Regions from separate parts of the Homo sapiens genome. Here all the other regions are linked to region 1. The links are contacts of gene promoters, found by promoter capture Hi-C in blood cells and fetal thymus (Javierre and others, 2016). All regions are on one chromosome and are shown on one strand. The core of a region is centred on a gene start or on the middle of the fragment in contact, and the rest is flanking DNA. Distances in the headings are between cores, read along the strand shown.

Region 1 (4,813 bases), core at 974-3,473:
GAGATGTATTTAAGAAGAATAAAGGTATCATCCTCACTAAATTGCAGATTGGAATTTCTACGTGTTAGGGGGGTGTTAGTCAATTGCGGGGAGCTTGACTGCTGGGTGATCAGGCCCAGATCCTGGAAGTCCCACTGTATGTTTTTTCTTTTGGACCTGTTACTCCAGGGGGGAACCCCCATCTGTCCTTTCTTGGGGAGAGGTTGGGGAATATGCTGGCTACAGCAATAGAAGAGGCCTCAGGTCCTCACATTTCAGTAAATGGACATCTACTTCATACCCATGTTCAGTAACCGCCCCCCCCCACCCCACACCCCAGCAAGCTAAGACTGGGGTCCTGTGATCTGGAGCCCTATGGTTCAGCATTTCTCTGGAACAATCTTCCTATCCCCCAACTAGTTGCTGCCTAGTATCAGCTTCCTATCCTTAAGGGGAAGGGCAGAAAGTAAGGATTCTTCCCCACCAGAAAATTGTAGTGCCAGAAGGAAAAGGAGAGGTTAACTATGATCCAAAGAAACAGAAAACCGGTGAATGGCTACCAAATGCTCACCATGTCCTAGAAAGAAACAATTCGTTTGAAACGTCAAACACTTACTATGGGTCAAACACTGAGAAGCTCTTACCATATCATCAAATCCTCGGGCAATAATCCTTGAGGCAAGCTTGAGAAATTCCATTCTACAGCTGAAGAAATCAAGGTTGGTGTGGCCAAGAGATATGGAAAAACCAAGTCACTCATCTTTGCCAGAGCTGAGAGTCAAGCCAGGATGGTCTGTCCATCTCTTAACCAGTACACTACCCATTAAATTAGCGCTGGCAACTATAGTGTGGGCTCAGGGAGGACAGCATCTAGGTATTTGACACAGAGGTGAGATAATGGTGATCTTTCCCTCTATCTGGGCTGGTCAAGATGTGGCCATCTCTGGAGGCTCCCAGGGCCTAAATAAGAGGCCTAGAAGACCTGGGATTGTCCCTGTAGCTCCCCATCTTGGAGTCAGCCTGCATTCATGGGGCAGGAGCCCTGAACCTGCATCAGGTTCCTTCTTTCTCAGGTAAGGAAAAAACTTAGAGCTGATAAGGCAGCACCACATTTTGCAGCCCCATTTTGGAGAGACATCTTTTTATTAGGACTTTGTAAGTCACTGCAGTAGTCTCCTAGGTCTCATTTATTGAATATTTAGATTTTTATTCCTGTTCTGTGACGCCCTTTTCATCTGCCTAAAAAAAAAAAAAGAAAAGAAAAAAGAAAAAGAAAAGAAAAGAAAGAGAAATCTTCCTAACACAGTCTTAAATACAGAAGGCTATGCACAATCTTACTTGTCCTACACTGCACAGCAAATCAAGCACTCACAGGCCTTCAGGTGCACCTGCCTGGTTTCCCTCCTCTTGGCTAGGGAAGTACTGGGGCAAGTGGGCAGTTTCTTTTTCAAATTTCCACTTATACCTGACCTTAGGTGGTGCCTATTCAACACTTACAGAATGAATGAAACAAAAAGGCTCATTTAGAGTGGGCGCTAAACAATGTGTACACATGGACTTAGTGGAATAGTAGACACTGGAGACTCCAAAAGGTGGGAGGGTGGGAGAGGGATGAGGGATGAGAAATTACCTATTAGATACAATGTACAACATTCGGGTGACAGTTACACTAAGAGCCCAGATGCCACCACAATGCAATATACCCATGGAACAGAACTGCACTTGTAACCCCTAAATCTATTTTTTAAATGATACCCCCCAAAAAGCAGTTTGGGGTCTGAGAGTAAGGGAGGGAGAGGGAGAATGAGAGGCGGGAAGTGGGGTGGGGAGAGACAGGCGGGGAGGTTCCGGTGTGAAGTTGTTTCCGCGCAAAAGAAGGAGAGCGGCTGGCGGGGCAGACATAGGTGTCAGGAGGACAGGAAAGGGGACAGGACCAGGAGGCTGGCGCTTACCCCAGGAGGATGAGGAACCGCGGGTCCGTGGCCAGGTTGGCGTCAATGGTGACGGACAGGAACGAGGGGCTCACCAGGTGCAGCGGCTCCTGGGTGAAGAAGTCCAGGTCCACGACGTCCTGTGCTTGCGCAGGTCGGGGCAGGGCGCCAGGGGAGAGGGGACCCAGCGGCCCCAGGAGCAGCAGCATCAGCGGCGGCGGCAGCGCAGGCTTCGAGCGCAGCAGCATCTTGGGCTCACCTGGCTGCTCCCCCCGCCAGCTGCCGCGCAGCGGAGAGTCGAGAGCTCTAGCACTTCCTCCCGCCGAGCCCCAGCGCCCTTTTCTCCTTTCCTCCGCCCCGTTACGCCTCCTCACCCCTCCCACTGCGCCCTCCATCCCTCCCACTCCTCTTCTGCATCCCTCCCACTGCTCCCAATCCAACCCCGCCCCGCCTGCCCGGCTCTCTCCTACTTCCTTGCTCGCTTTCCCCTCGGTGGCGGTCACGTTCACTTACGAAATCACCCACACCCACTTGAAGGGTGCGGAGATGGCCGGGATCCAAGCGCCCGGGAGGCCTGGGGAGGAGCGCCCGGGGAGGAGCGCCCGGGGAGCAGCGCTGGGCATCCCGGACCAGGCTTCCTGACGCACGTGTTCTGCGCGCTCTCGTGGGAACCCAGCGTTTCCGACTCCCAGATCCCATTCTGATGGCGCCGGGTATCCCTCTGACCCTCGAGTAAAACCTCCAATGGAGTATTCATCCCTTCCTCTCCCATCTAGCTTATAAACACTTGCTTGTCACTTGAGCCAGCCAAAATCTGATTGTCCTCTGGCCAGGCAGTTTCTCAGGTATTTTACTTTTGCTTGAAAAAATCTGGCCTCAGCATACGCTAAACTGCAGCTGGAAAGAGATCAACCACCCAAAATTCTTTATCAACTTCTCATTAAGACAATATTTAGCAATCTTAAAGGGTTAGTTGCTCCAATGTCTGGAACTCAGGACCTGAAGCCCCCATACAAAGTGTAGAGTACGGACTGCCCCTGAATTTGGAGCCTTTGCCAAATTTCTCCTCTGCGCATTTATCTTTCGCTGTTGGTCAGACTTTTCTTCAGCTTTTCCTTGATGCTTACACTGATGTATAATCATAGCAAGCATCGCACGCTTAGTGCCTACTGTATGCCTGATACAGGTGCTTTACTTGTGTTCTCTTCCCTTCTCACAACCCTGCCAAGTGCATACTGTCCTTGTTTTACACATGCGGACCCAAGCTCTGAGACAGTAACTGGGTGAAGTGTCAGAATCGGGATGTGAAGTGTCAGAATCGGGATGTGAATGCAGTTACAAAACCTCGAGCAGATGGCAGTGTGTTTCAGCTGAAATGTAACTTCCCTCAAGGAAGCTTTCTCTCAATCTCCAGGCAGCTCTCCATGACACACTCTCATAGCATCCTCAATTTGTTAGACACTCTCGTAGCATCCTCAATTTGTTAGACACTCTCGTAGCATCCTCAATTTGTTAGTATTGTGATGTTGCTCAACATTGGCTTCATCTACTAGATTATATGCTCCACCAAAACAGAGATTAAGTTTGTCTCACACGCTATGCTAGCCATAGCTCAGGCATGTGATCATGTTGGTGCTTAGTAAGAGTCTAATAAATATTGGTTGAGTAAGCAAATAACACCAAAACCCTTAGATTTTTCCACTTGAGATTGTACCACCAATAAGGCAACAAATAAAAATAGATTATTTTGAAATGCATATCTAATTTGCATAAATCAGGCCAGGCATGGTATGTGATGCCAGTGATGCCATCATGCCTGTGATGCCAGCATTTTGGGAGGCCAAGGTGGGAGGATTGCTTGAGCCGAGGAATTCAAGAACAGCCTGGGCAACATGATGAAACCCCATCTCTACAAAAAATACAAAAAATTAGCCAGGCGTGGTGGCCCGTGCCTGTGGTTCCAGCTACTGGGGAGGCTGAGGTGGGAGGTTTATTTGAGCCTGGGAGGTGGAGGTTGCAGTGACCCTTAATCACACCACTGCACTCCAGCCTGGGTGACAAAGTGAGACCCTCTCTTAAAATAATAATAATAATTATCATTATTTGCATAGATCTACCTATTCTTAAGCAACTTAAAAGCTAAGCTCATAGTGAGTTTTGCAACTAGAATCAGGTTCATATCCTACAATTACTGTATACATATGAAAAAAAATTCACACATAAACACCACACTACCAGAAGAGTGTAATAATATGGTAGCAGACGTGGAGTTGGAAAAACAGAAGTTTCTTTTCCACATTTGTCATGACATTAATCTTACACCCCACCCCATGCCCCTGACTCCTGTTGTGAGTCAACAGTCATACCAATTTCTTTCTTTTTTTTTTTTTTTGAGACGGAGTCTCGCTCTGTCGCCCAGGCTGGAGTGCAGTGGCACCATCTCGGCTCACTGCAAGCTCTGCCTCCTGGATTCACGCCATTCTCCTGCCTCAGCCTCCCGAGTAGCTGGGACTACAGGGGCCTGCCATCACCCCCGGCTAATTGTTTTGTATTTTTAGTAGAGATGGGATTTCACCATGTCTGTCAGGATGGTCTCAATCTCCTGACCTCGTGATCTGCCCGTCTCAGCCTCACAAAATGCTAGGATTGCAGGCATGAGCCACTGTGCCATGCCCAGTCATACCAATTTCTTTAACATGTTTGGGTGATTTGAAAAGTGGACCATTGCAAGTTTTCTAAATAGTGCATCCTTGTGGTCTACATGTGAGTTACTAATATGGAAACGGGGGGCCGGGTGTGATGGCTCACACCTGTAATCCCAGCACTTTGGGAGGCCAAGGCGGGTGGATCACTAGAGCCCAAGAGTTCAAGACCAGCCTGGGCAACATGGTGTAGCCAGGAGT
Region 2 (4,813 bases), core at 1,363-3,862, 250 kb before region 1:
AGAAAGGAAGAGTATCAGAGCAAAAAAACAGGAAGGTAAAATCTTTTTAAAAAATTTAATTGATTTAATAGATAACTTTATTTAAAGGAATTATAGCAACAATGTGTGGATAGCTATAGCCTAGGGATAACTGAAGTGAATGACTGGAGTGTAAGTGATGGGAGGAAGGAATTGGGAATACCCTGTTATGAAGTATCCGCACAACCATGACACAGTATAGTGTTATTTGAAACTTGACTTAGATTAGTTGTAAATGTATATTGCAAACTCTAAATCACTATTAAAAAACTTTTTAAAGAAATATAATTGTTATGCTAAGAGAGGAGAGAAATAGAATGATAAAATGCTTATTTAAAACCAGAGTGTCAGCCAGGCGTGGTGGCTCACGCCTGTAATCCTAGCACTTTGGGAGGCTGAGGCAGGTGGATCACCTGAGGTCAGGAATTTGAGACCAGCCTAGCCAATATGGCGAAACCCTATCTCTACTAAAAATACAAAAATTAGCCAGGCATGGTGGCGGATGCCTGTAATCCCAGCTACTTGGGAGGCTGAGGCAGGAGAATTACTTGAATCCTGGGGGTGGAGGTTGCAGTGAGCTGAGATCACACCACTTCACTCCAGCCTGGGCAGCAGAGTGAAACTCCGTCTCAAAATAAATAAATAAAATAAAATAAAATAAAATCAGAGTGTCAGCAAGAGTATCAAAAAATACATGAGGCAGAAACTGATAAAACTGCAAGGAGAAATAGATGAATCCACTATTATAGTTGGAGATCTCAACTTCAATGCCTATCAGCAAAGGACAGATCCAGTAAGTAGAAAATCAGTAAGGACATTGTTGTACTCAACAGCACCACCAATCAACTGAATATAATTGACATCCATAGACTGCTTCGTCCTGCAACAACAGAGTACTCACTCTTGTCAGCTCACTTGGAGCGTTCACTGAGGTAGACCAACCTGGGCCATAAAACACACCTCAAAATGTAAAAGAATAGAAATTATACACTGTATGTTCTCAGACAACAATGGAATTTTTTTCTTTTTGAGACAGAGTTTTGCTCTTGTCACCCAGGCTGGAGTGCAGTGGTGTGATCTTGGCTCACTGCAACCTCTGCCTCCCGGGTTCAAGCAATTCTGCCTCATAATCATAATCCTGAAAGACACAATCCTGAATGCCAAACCCCAAATGTTGATGTCCCAAAAGATCAAAATCCTTAAAGTTCAAAATTTCTAAAGTCTAAATCCCTCATGTCTAAAATCCTGAAAATTACAATCCCAAAAGATTAAAATCCTCAATGTTGAAACCCTGAAAGCCAAATTCTGGGGAAGGGGATTAGTGTATTTTTTGGTTGTACACAGGATGGTTGCATCATGTTAGTTGTGTCATGTCAAGCAGAACCATAGCCTTTTTGTCTTTATTTGGAAATTAAGTGTGATTTAAGGGGATGCAAATGAGTGCCAAATTGACAAGGGGTGGACAGTGGACATAATTTTAGGTGTCAACTTGAATGGATTAAGGAATACCTAGAAACCTGGTAAAGCATTATTTTGGATGTGGCTGTGAGAGTGTTTTCAGAGATTAGAATGTGAGTCTGAGTGGACTAAGTGGGGGATGATCTGCCCTCATTGTTGGGAGGCACCAACTACTTGACCAGGGTCCCAAACAGAACAAATATAGAAGGCAAATTGGTCTCTCTCTGAGATCTGGGACAGACTTTTCTTCTCCTGTCTTGGACCCAGAACTCCAGGTTTGCCAGCCTTCGGACTCCGGAACTTACACCAGTGGCCCCCTGGATCCTGAGGCTTTTGGCCTCAGATGGATAGTTGCACCATCAGCTTTCCTGGTTCTGAGGCCTTTGGAGTTGGACTGAACCATGCTACCGGTATCCCAAGGTCTCCAGCTTTCGGATGGCCTCACCGTGGGTCTTTTCAGCCACCATAATTGCATGAGCCAAGTTCCCTAATAAATTTCCTCTCATATCCTATTGGTTCTGTCTCTCTAGAGAACCCTGACTAATACAGATTTGGTATTGGGGAAGCTGAACATCATTTCTTCTTACTGTATTGCTTACCACACAATGGAAGAGATCTGTGAAATTGTTCCCTTGCAAAAAGGCTGTGTTAAGTGTATGAGGCTACTTAACAGTGAAACAGTTTAAAAGTTAATTGTTATTCGTGCTGCAAACGTAGAAAATCACCTAATTGCAATGGCTGAGAAATAACCAGACTTTCAGATGGACAGCAGGTACTTACGAAATTTGTAGACCACAACCACTCCCCAAATACAAGTACTGTGAGTGTTTTGAAGATCATAGAAGTGAAAACACAGGCCAAAAATACAAGAAATCTCTTATGCCAAATTATTTAATCATGTATGGCTTCTGCCCCTTTACACATAATGCCAACTCGATATGCTATGTATTTCATCTTCGCATTATTTTCAATACTGAAGGTAAATTTAGATCTCTCTTTTTTTCTTAGTCTGGCTAAAAGCTTGTCAATTTTGCTTAACTTTTCAAAAAACCAACTTTTTGTTTCATTGATTTTTGTATTGTTTACTTCATTTTAATTTCATTTATTTCTGTTCTGATCTTTATTATTTCTTCTACTAATTTTGGATTTGGTTTGCTCTTGTTTTCCTAATTCTTTAAGATGCATCATTAGATTGTTTATTTAATGTAGGCACTATAAGTTTCCCTCTTTTTTGATGTAGGCACTATAACGATAAGCTTCCCTCTTAGTACTGCTTTTGCTGTATCCCATAGATTTTGGTATGTTGTGCTCCCATTAGCATTTGTTCCAAGAAATTTTTAAATTTCTTATTAAAATGATCCATCCTTGAGAATGATCCATATGCTGAGGAAAAGCATGTGTATTCCACAGCCATTGGATGAAATGTTCCGTAATTATCTACTGGATCCATTTGGTCTATTGTGCAGATTAAGTCTGATGTTTCTTTATTGATTTTTCTGCCTGGAAGATCCATCCAGTGCTGAAAGTGGGGTGTCGAAGTCTCCAGCTATTATTGTATTGGGGCCTAACTCTCTCTTTAGCTCTTTTTTTTGTTTTGTTTTGTTTTGAGATGGAGCCTGGCTCTGTTGCCCAGGGTGGAGTGCAGTGGTATGATCTTGGCTCACTGCAACCTCCGCCTCCCAGGTTCAAGCTATTCTCCTGCCTCAGCCTCCCAAGTAGCTGGGATTACAGACATGTGCCACCATACCCGGCTAATTTTGTATTTTTAGTAGAGATAGGGTTTCTCCATCTTGGTCAAGCTGGTCTCGAACTCCCAACCTCAGGTGATCCACCTGCCTTGGCCTCCCCAAAGTGCTGGGATTATAGGCATGAGCCACTGCGCCTGGCCTTTTTTATTTTTTTAAGGAGGGGGGGGGTCTCACTACATTGTCTAGGCTAGACTCAAACTCCTGGGCTCAAGTGATCCTTCTGCCTCGACCTCCTGAAATGCTGTGATTACAGGCATGAGCCACCATGACTGGCCCTGACTGTGTATTTTCAAATAGCCTGTCTTCAGGCTCACTAATTCTTTCTTCTGCTTGATCAATTCTGCTACTGAAAGCCTCTAATGCATTGTTCAGTATGCCAATTGCATTTTTAGCTCTGGAATCTCAGTTTGATTCTTTTTATTTTAATCTTTTTGTTAAATGTATCTGATATAATTTTGAATTCCTTCTCTGTGTTATCTTGAATTTCTTGAGTTTCCTCAACACAGCTATTTTGAATTCTCTGCCTGAAAGGTCACACATCTCTGTTTCTCCAGGATTGGTCCCTGGTGGCTCATTTAGTTCATTTGGGAGGTCATGTTTTCCTGGATGGTGTTGATGTTAGTAAATGTTCTTCAGTGTCTGGGCATTGAAGAGTGAAGTATTTATTGTAGTCTTCACTGTCTAGGCTTATTTGTACCCATCCCTCTTAGAAAGGCTTTCCAGATATTTGAAAGTACTTGGATATTGTGATGTAAGCTGTATCTGATTTAGAGAGCACCCCAATCCCAGTAACACTGTTTTCTTGCAGACTCATGGAGGTACTACCTTGATGGTCTTGGAAAAGATCCAGAAGAATTCTCTGCATTATCAGGCAGAGAGACTCCTGTTCCATTCTGTTACTTTCTTCCAAGCAAAAAGAGTCTCACTCTCCTTGTTCTGAGCCACATAAAGCCGGCGGTGGAGTGACACAAGCATCCCTGTGGCCACCACCACTATGACTGCATTGGGTCAGACCTGAAGCCAGCACAGCAGTGGGGCTTGCCAAGGCTGGCTGTAACCACTTCCTGGCTACTGCCTATGTTTGCTGAAGGCCCTGGGGCTCTACAATTAGCTGGTGGCAAAGCCGGCCAGGCCTGTGTCCTTCCCTTCAGAGCCGTGAGGTCCCCCAGGCCCCAGGTGAGTCCAGAGGTGCCTTTTGGGAATCAGGGACTAGAGTAAAAAAACTTGGAAGTCTAGCTGGTGTTCTATTGTACTGTGGCTGAGCTGGTATTCAGACCACCAGATGCAGTCCTTCCCACTCTTCCTTTCCCTTCCCAAATGCAGAGGAGCCTCACCCCATAGCCACTGTCAACCCAGGCCACGAGGAGTACTGCCAGGCTACCTCCAATATTCCCTTAAGCATCGAGGTATCTTAAGTCAAGCTTGTGTTGAATGCTTCCTGCCTTGGGACTCGCCCTTCAGGGCAATGGGTTCCCCTCTGGCCTGGGGCAGGTGCAGAAATGGTGTCCAACAGTCAAGTCCTGGAATCGGAGACCTCAAGAGCCCACTTGGTGCTTTACCCCACTGTGGCTGTGCTGGTACCTAAGGTG
Region 3 (4,813 bases), core at 1,386-3,885, 230 kb before region 1:
TGTACCTAGACATCCAAGAACTCTGATGAAGACATACAAAGAGATTAATGTTATTTTCATGCCTTCTAAAAGAACACCTATTCTGCAGCCAATCAAGGAGTAATTTTGATTTTCAAGTCTTATTATTTAAAAAAAAAAACACTTTTGAAGGCTGTAGCTGCCATAGACAGTGATACCTCTGATGGATCTAGGGAAAATAAATTGAAAATCTTGTGGAAATGATTAATAATTTTAGGTTTCATTAAGAACATTCATGATTCCTGGCCAGGTGTGGTGGCTCACAGCTGTAATCTCAGCACTTAGGGAGGCCAAGGCAGGCGGATCACTTGAGGTCAGGAGTTTCGAGACCAGCCTGGCCAACATGGTAAAAACCCATCTCTACCAAAAAATAAAAATAAAAAATTAACTGGGTGTGATGCTGCACATCTATAGCCCCAGGTACTCAGGAGGCTGAGGTGGGAGAATTGCTTGAACCTGGGAGGGGAAGGCTGCAGTGAGCCGAGACGGCGCCACTGCACTCCAGCCTGGGTGACAGAGTGAGACCCTGTCTCAAAAAACAAAACAGAAAAACATTCATGATTCCTGGGGGGAGATCAAAATATCAACAGTAAAGGAGATTGGAAGAAGTTGATTCTATCCCTCATGGATGACTTTGAGGTGTTCAAGACTTCAGTAGAGAAAGTAACTACAGATGTGGTAGAAATAGCAAGAGAACTAGAATTAGAAATGGATCCTAAAGATGTCACTGAATTGCTGCAATCTCATGATAAAACTTGAGGAGCTACTTCTTATGGATGAGCAAAGAAAGCTGTTTCTTGGCCGGGCGCGGTGGCTCACGCCTGTAATCCCAACACCTTGGGAGGCCGAGGCGGGCGGATCATGAGGTCAGGAGATTGAGACAATACTGGCTAACACGGTGAAACCCCGTCTCTACTAAAAATACAAAAAATTAGCCGGGCGTAGTGGCGGGCACCTGTAATCCCAGCTACTCAGGAGGCCGAGGCAGGAGAATGGCGTGAATCTGGGAGGCGGAGCTTGCAGTGAGCCGAGATGGCGCCACTGCACTCCAGCCTGGGTGACAGAGCAAGACTCCCTTTAAAAAAAAAAAAAAGAAAGCTATTTCTTGAGGCTGGGCGCGGTGGCTTCTGCCTGTAATCCCAGCACTGTGGGAGGCCGAGGCGGGCGGATCACAAGGTCAAGAGATCAAGACCATCCTGGCCAACATGGTGAAACCCTGTCTCTACTAAAAATACAAAAATTAGCTGGGCACGGTGGCGGGTACCTGTAATCTCAGCTACTCGGGAGGATGAGGCAGGAGAATCGCTTGAACCTGGGAGGCGGAGGTTGCAGTGAGCCGAGATCTCACCACTGCACTCCAGCCTGGCAACAGAGTGAGACTCCATCTCAACAAAGAAAGAAAGAAAGAAAGAAAGTGGTTTCTTGAGATGGAATCAACTCCTGGTGAAGATGCTGTGACCATGGTTGAAATAACAACAAAGGATTGAGAATATTCCATAAGCTTAGTTGATAAAGCCGTAACAGGGTTTGAGAGGACTGAATCCAATTTTGAAAGAAGTTCTATTGTAGGTAAAATGCTACCAAATAGCATAGAAATCTTTCCTTTCATGAAAGGAATGGTCAATCAATGAGGCAGACTTCATTGTTGCCTTATTTGTTTTTTGTTTTTGTTTTGTTTTGTTTGAGATGGAGTCTTGCTCTGTTGTCCAGGCTGGAGTGCTGAGGCGCAATCTGGGCTCACTGCAGCCTCCCTCCTGGGTTCAAGCAATTCTCCTGCCTCAGCCTCCCAAGTAGCTGGGATTACAGGCACCTGCCACCACGCCTGGCTAATTTCTATATTTTTAGTAGACAGGGGTTTCACCATGTTGGCCAGGCTGGTCTTTAACTCCTGACCTCAAGTGATCAGCCCTCCTGGGCCTCCCGAAGTGCTGGGATTATAGGTGTGAGCCACCACGCCCAGACCATTGTTGCCTTACTTGAAGAAATTGCCACAGTCACCCCAACCTTCAGTATCCAGCACCCTGATCAATCAGCAGCCACCAACACTGAGGCAAGACCCTCCACAGGCAAAAACATTATGAATTGCTGAAGATTCAGATAGATTATTATTAGTATTTTTTAGCCATAAAGTATTTTAAAATTAAGGTACATATGTTGTTTTTTGAGACATAATGTTATTGCATACTTAACAGACTATAGTGTAGTATAAGCATACCTTTTATGTGCACTGGGAAACCAAAAAATTCATGTGACTTGCTTTATTGCAATATTTGCTTTATTGTGGTGGTCTAGAACTAAACCTGTATATCTGAGGTTTGCCTGTATATATATATATGTGTGTATACACACATCCACTCCCAATCTTATTGGTTCTGTTTCTAATGCACTTAGGAGGACTCTAAGTAATATAATCTCTCACCTACACAAAGTGGAGTTGGTGTAATGGAAAGTGTATGAATGGACAGTTAGAATTGAGTATCGACTCTTTCTCTACTATTATCTTTGAGGGAATTACTCCACCTCTTAAAACTTTAAAGTTCTCTTTGGCAAAATGTTGTGGACCTACCCACTTTACAGAGATGATGTGAGGATTAAGTGAGATAATACATGTAATGCATCCACGCCACAGTAGATCCTAAATAAGCCTCTTCCATGGTATGACATCCATTGCAAATATGAGTTATCAATTTTCTCAGGTTTTCAGCAGAAACCTAGAAGGAGGCCACATAACCAGAAGATCTGTTGCTACAACTGAATGCAAGATTGCACATGCTAGGGAACTCTTATCAATCAATTTCAGAAGATGTATACATCAAATGATCTCCATGTTTATAATAATTATTTTGAATGGGGTGCATATTTGAGTGAGATGGTATGGTAAGAGACTCACAGGGATGCCATATCGGGTCCTGTAGAGAGTCCTCATTGCGACGCTTGTTCCACACAGACAGCATTCATTCATATCAGCTGCAACTTGACACCCAAGGCACGGGAAACAAAATGTGCCACAGAGACCTAGACACATGAAACCAGGGGTACATATTACTCCACTCTGCCCCTGCCACAGCTGAAAGTTTAGCTTGCTTTCACAAATGGCAGTCCGAGTCATGGGGCCTTGGCCGCAAAGCCTGCTGCTAAGTCCATCTTCAATGTTTCTATTCAGCTTTGCATCAATTTCTCGCTCCACCCGCAAATCATTTCAGGAATGACCACGCCTTTGCAAAGTATATCATTCTTGTCATAGTTCTGCCTTCATTCATTTGTTCATTGATGCAGTAAAACTTATTCATTTTCCAGACATTATCCTCAGTACTGACAGTGCCCCTGGCTCAAGTCTAGTAGTGAAGGCAGATCATAGGGAAAGTTCTCCAACAGAAACGTGTTTGAAATACCAACAGGTCACCCAGAAAAATGGGGCCTACAAGGCCCTGAGTAGGAAATGCTCAGGAAATATTGAAGGATGATTAGATGTTTTAAAGGTGGACAAAAAGGAAAAGAGCCTCTTCGAGGTAATCTGGCATATCCTGGCAAAGGCTAGTGTTCATTCAATATGGCTGGAGCCCTGGGATGGGATGAGGATTTAACTGGGGGTTGAGGCAGGTTGGGGACCAGATGATGAAAAACTGTAAGTGTTAAGAGTGTGCCATGAGAGTTATGAGGAACCACTGAAACATTTTAAGAGGGGAGAATAATTTGATCAGATCTACATTTAAGAAAATTTGCTATTAAGCAATTAAGCTTTGATTGGAACTTGTGTATTCATTTAATTGGGTAATAATAATACTAGGGGTGAGAGGGTTAAAATGTTCATCTTTAGAGAGTTTCACCAATGCAGTCTAATTCTCACTTTGATTTGCAGATGTTGAACTGGTGCCCTGAGAAGCTTAAGTCGTCACCCCAGACAATGAGAGTGAAAAAACCAACACAATTGTTTCATTCCCTAGGTAATTTTCCCTTGCTATGCTACTGAGTGTGTAATTCTTTTTTTATTTTTATTTTATTTTATTTACTTATTTATTTATTTATTTTTGAGATGCAGCCTCGAGTGCAATGGTGCGATCTTAGCTCACTGCAACCTCTACCTCTCAGGTTCAAGCAATTCTTCTGCCTCAGCCTCCCAAGTAGCTGGGACTACAGGCACCCACCACCATGCCCGGTTAATTTTTGTATTTTTTAGTAGAGATGGGGTTTCACCATCTTGGCCAGGCTGGTCTTGAACTCCTGACCTTGTGATCTGCCCGCCTTGGCCTCCCAAAGTGCTGGGATTACAGGTGTGAGCCACCACGCCCAGCCTGATTGTAATTCTTATCACATTCAAAGTTCAATTTCAGGCCAGGTATGGTGGCTTATGCCTGTAATCCTAGCACTTTGGAAGGCCGAGGTGGGCAGATCACTTGATGTCAGGAGTTTGAGACCGGCCTGCCCAACACGATGAAACCCCATCTCTACTAAAAATACAAAAATTGGCTGGGTGTGGTTGTGCGTGCCTGTAACCCCAGCTACTCGGAGGCCAAGGTAGGAGAATCACTTGAACCAGGGAGACAGACAATTGCAGTGAGCTGAGATTGCACCACTACATTCTAGCCTGGGTGACAAAGTGAGACTGTGTCTCAAAAAAAACAAAAAACAAAAACAAGGTTCAATTCAACTCTCATTCAAAGTCATTTTCAACTTTAAAGGATAATGTATTTTATTTTCTTGCCTTAGAGTACTATGTGGACCAAGACAAGCAAATAGACTTCAGAGCAAGTTTTCTGCAGGTGGGTTTGTTTATTTCTTGGTCATTATTGAGAAC

The links. Contacts are between HindIII fragments. The CHiCAGO score rates a contact against its expected background, and 5 or more counts as called.
Region 2: a contact is called between a fragment that was not itself captured here and the fragment with the promoter of HPSE in region 1, in 1 of 17 cell types (total CD8 T cells). The highest score is 5.3, in total CD8 T cells.
Region 3: a fragment that was not itself captured here is called in contact with the fragment with the promoter of HPSE in region 1 in 2 of 17 cell types (neutrophils and monocytes); the score reaches 5.7 in neutrophils.

What each region holds. Positions count from the first base shown.
Region 1 is chr4:83,332,625-83,337,437 of GRCh38, forward strand. HPSE (heparanase) reads right to left here and starts at 2,224. Exons shown (of 12, transcript NM_001098540.3): 1 at 1,932-2,224. The coding sequence starts at 2,158. The HindIII fragment of the contact is 2,644 bases long and covers 661-3,304 here.
Region 2 is chr4:83,078,698-83,083,510 of GRCh38, forward strand. No RefSeq gene overlaps it. Among named protein-coding and RNA genes, the nearest start is that of PLAC8, 34 kb to the right of the region's middle. The HindIII fragment of the contact is 236 bases long and covers 2,495-2,730 here.
Region 3 is chr4:83,101,988-83,106,800 of GRCh38, forward strand. It overlaps PLAC8 (placenta associated 8), which reads right to left. Exons shown (of 5, transcript NM_016619.3): 3 at 2,909-3,033. Among named protein-coding and RNA genes, the nearest start is that of PLAC8, 10 kb to the right of the region's middle. The HindIII fragment of the contact is 2,237 bases long and covers 1,518-3,754 here.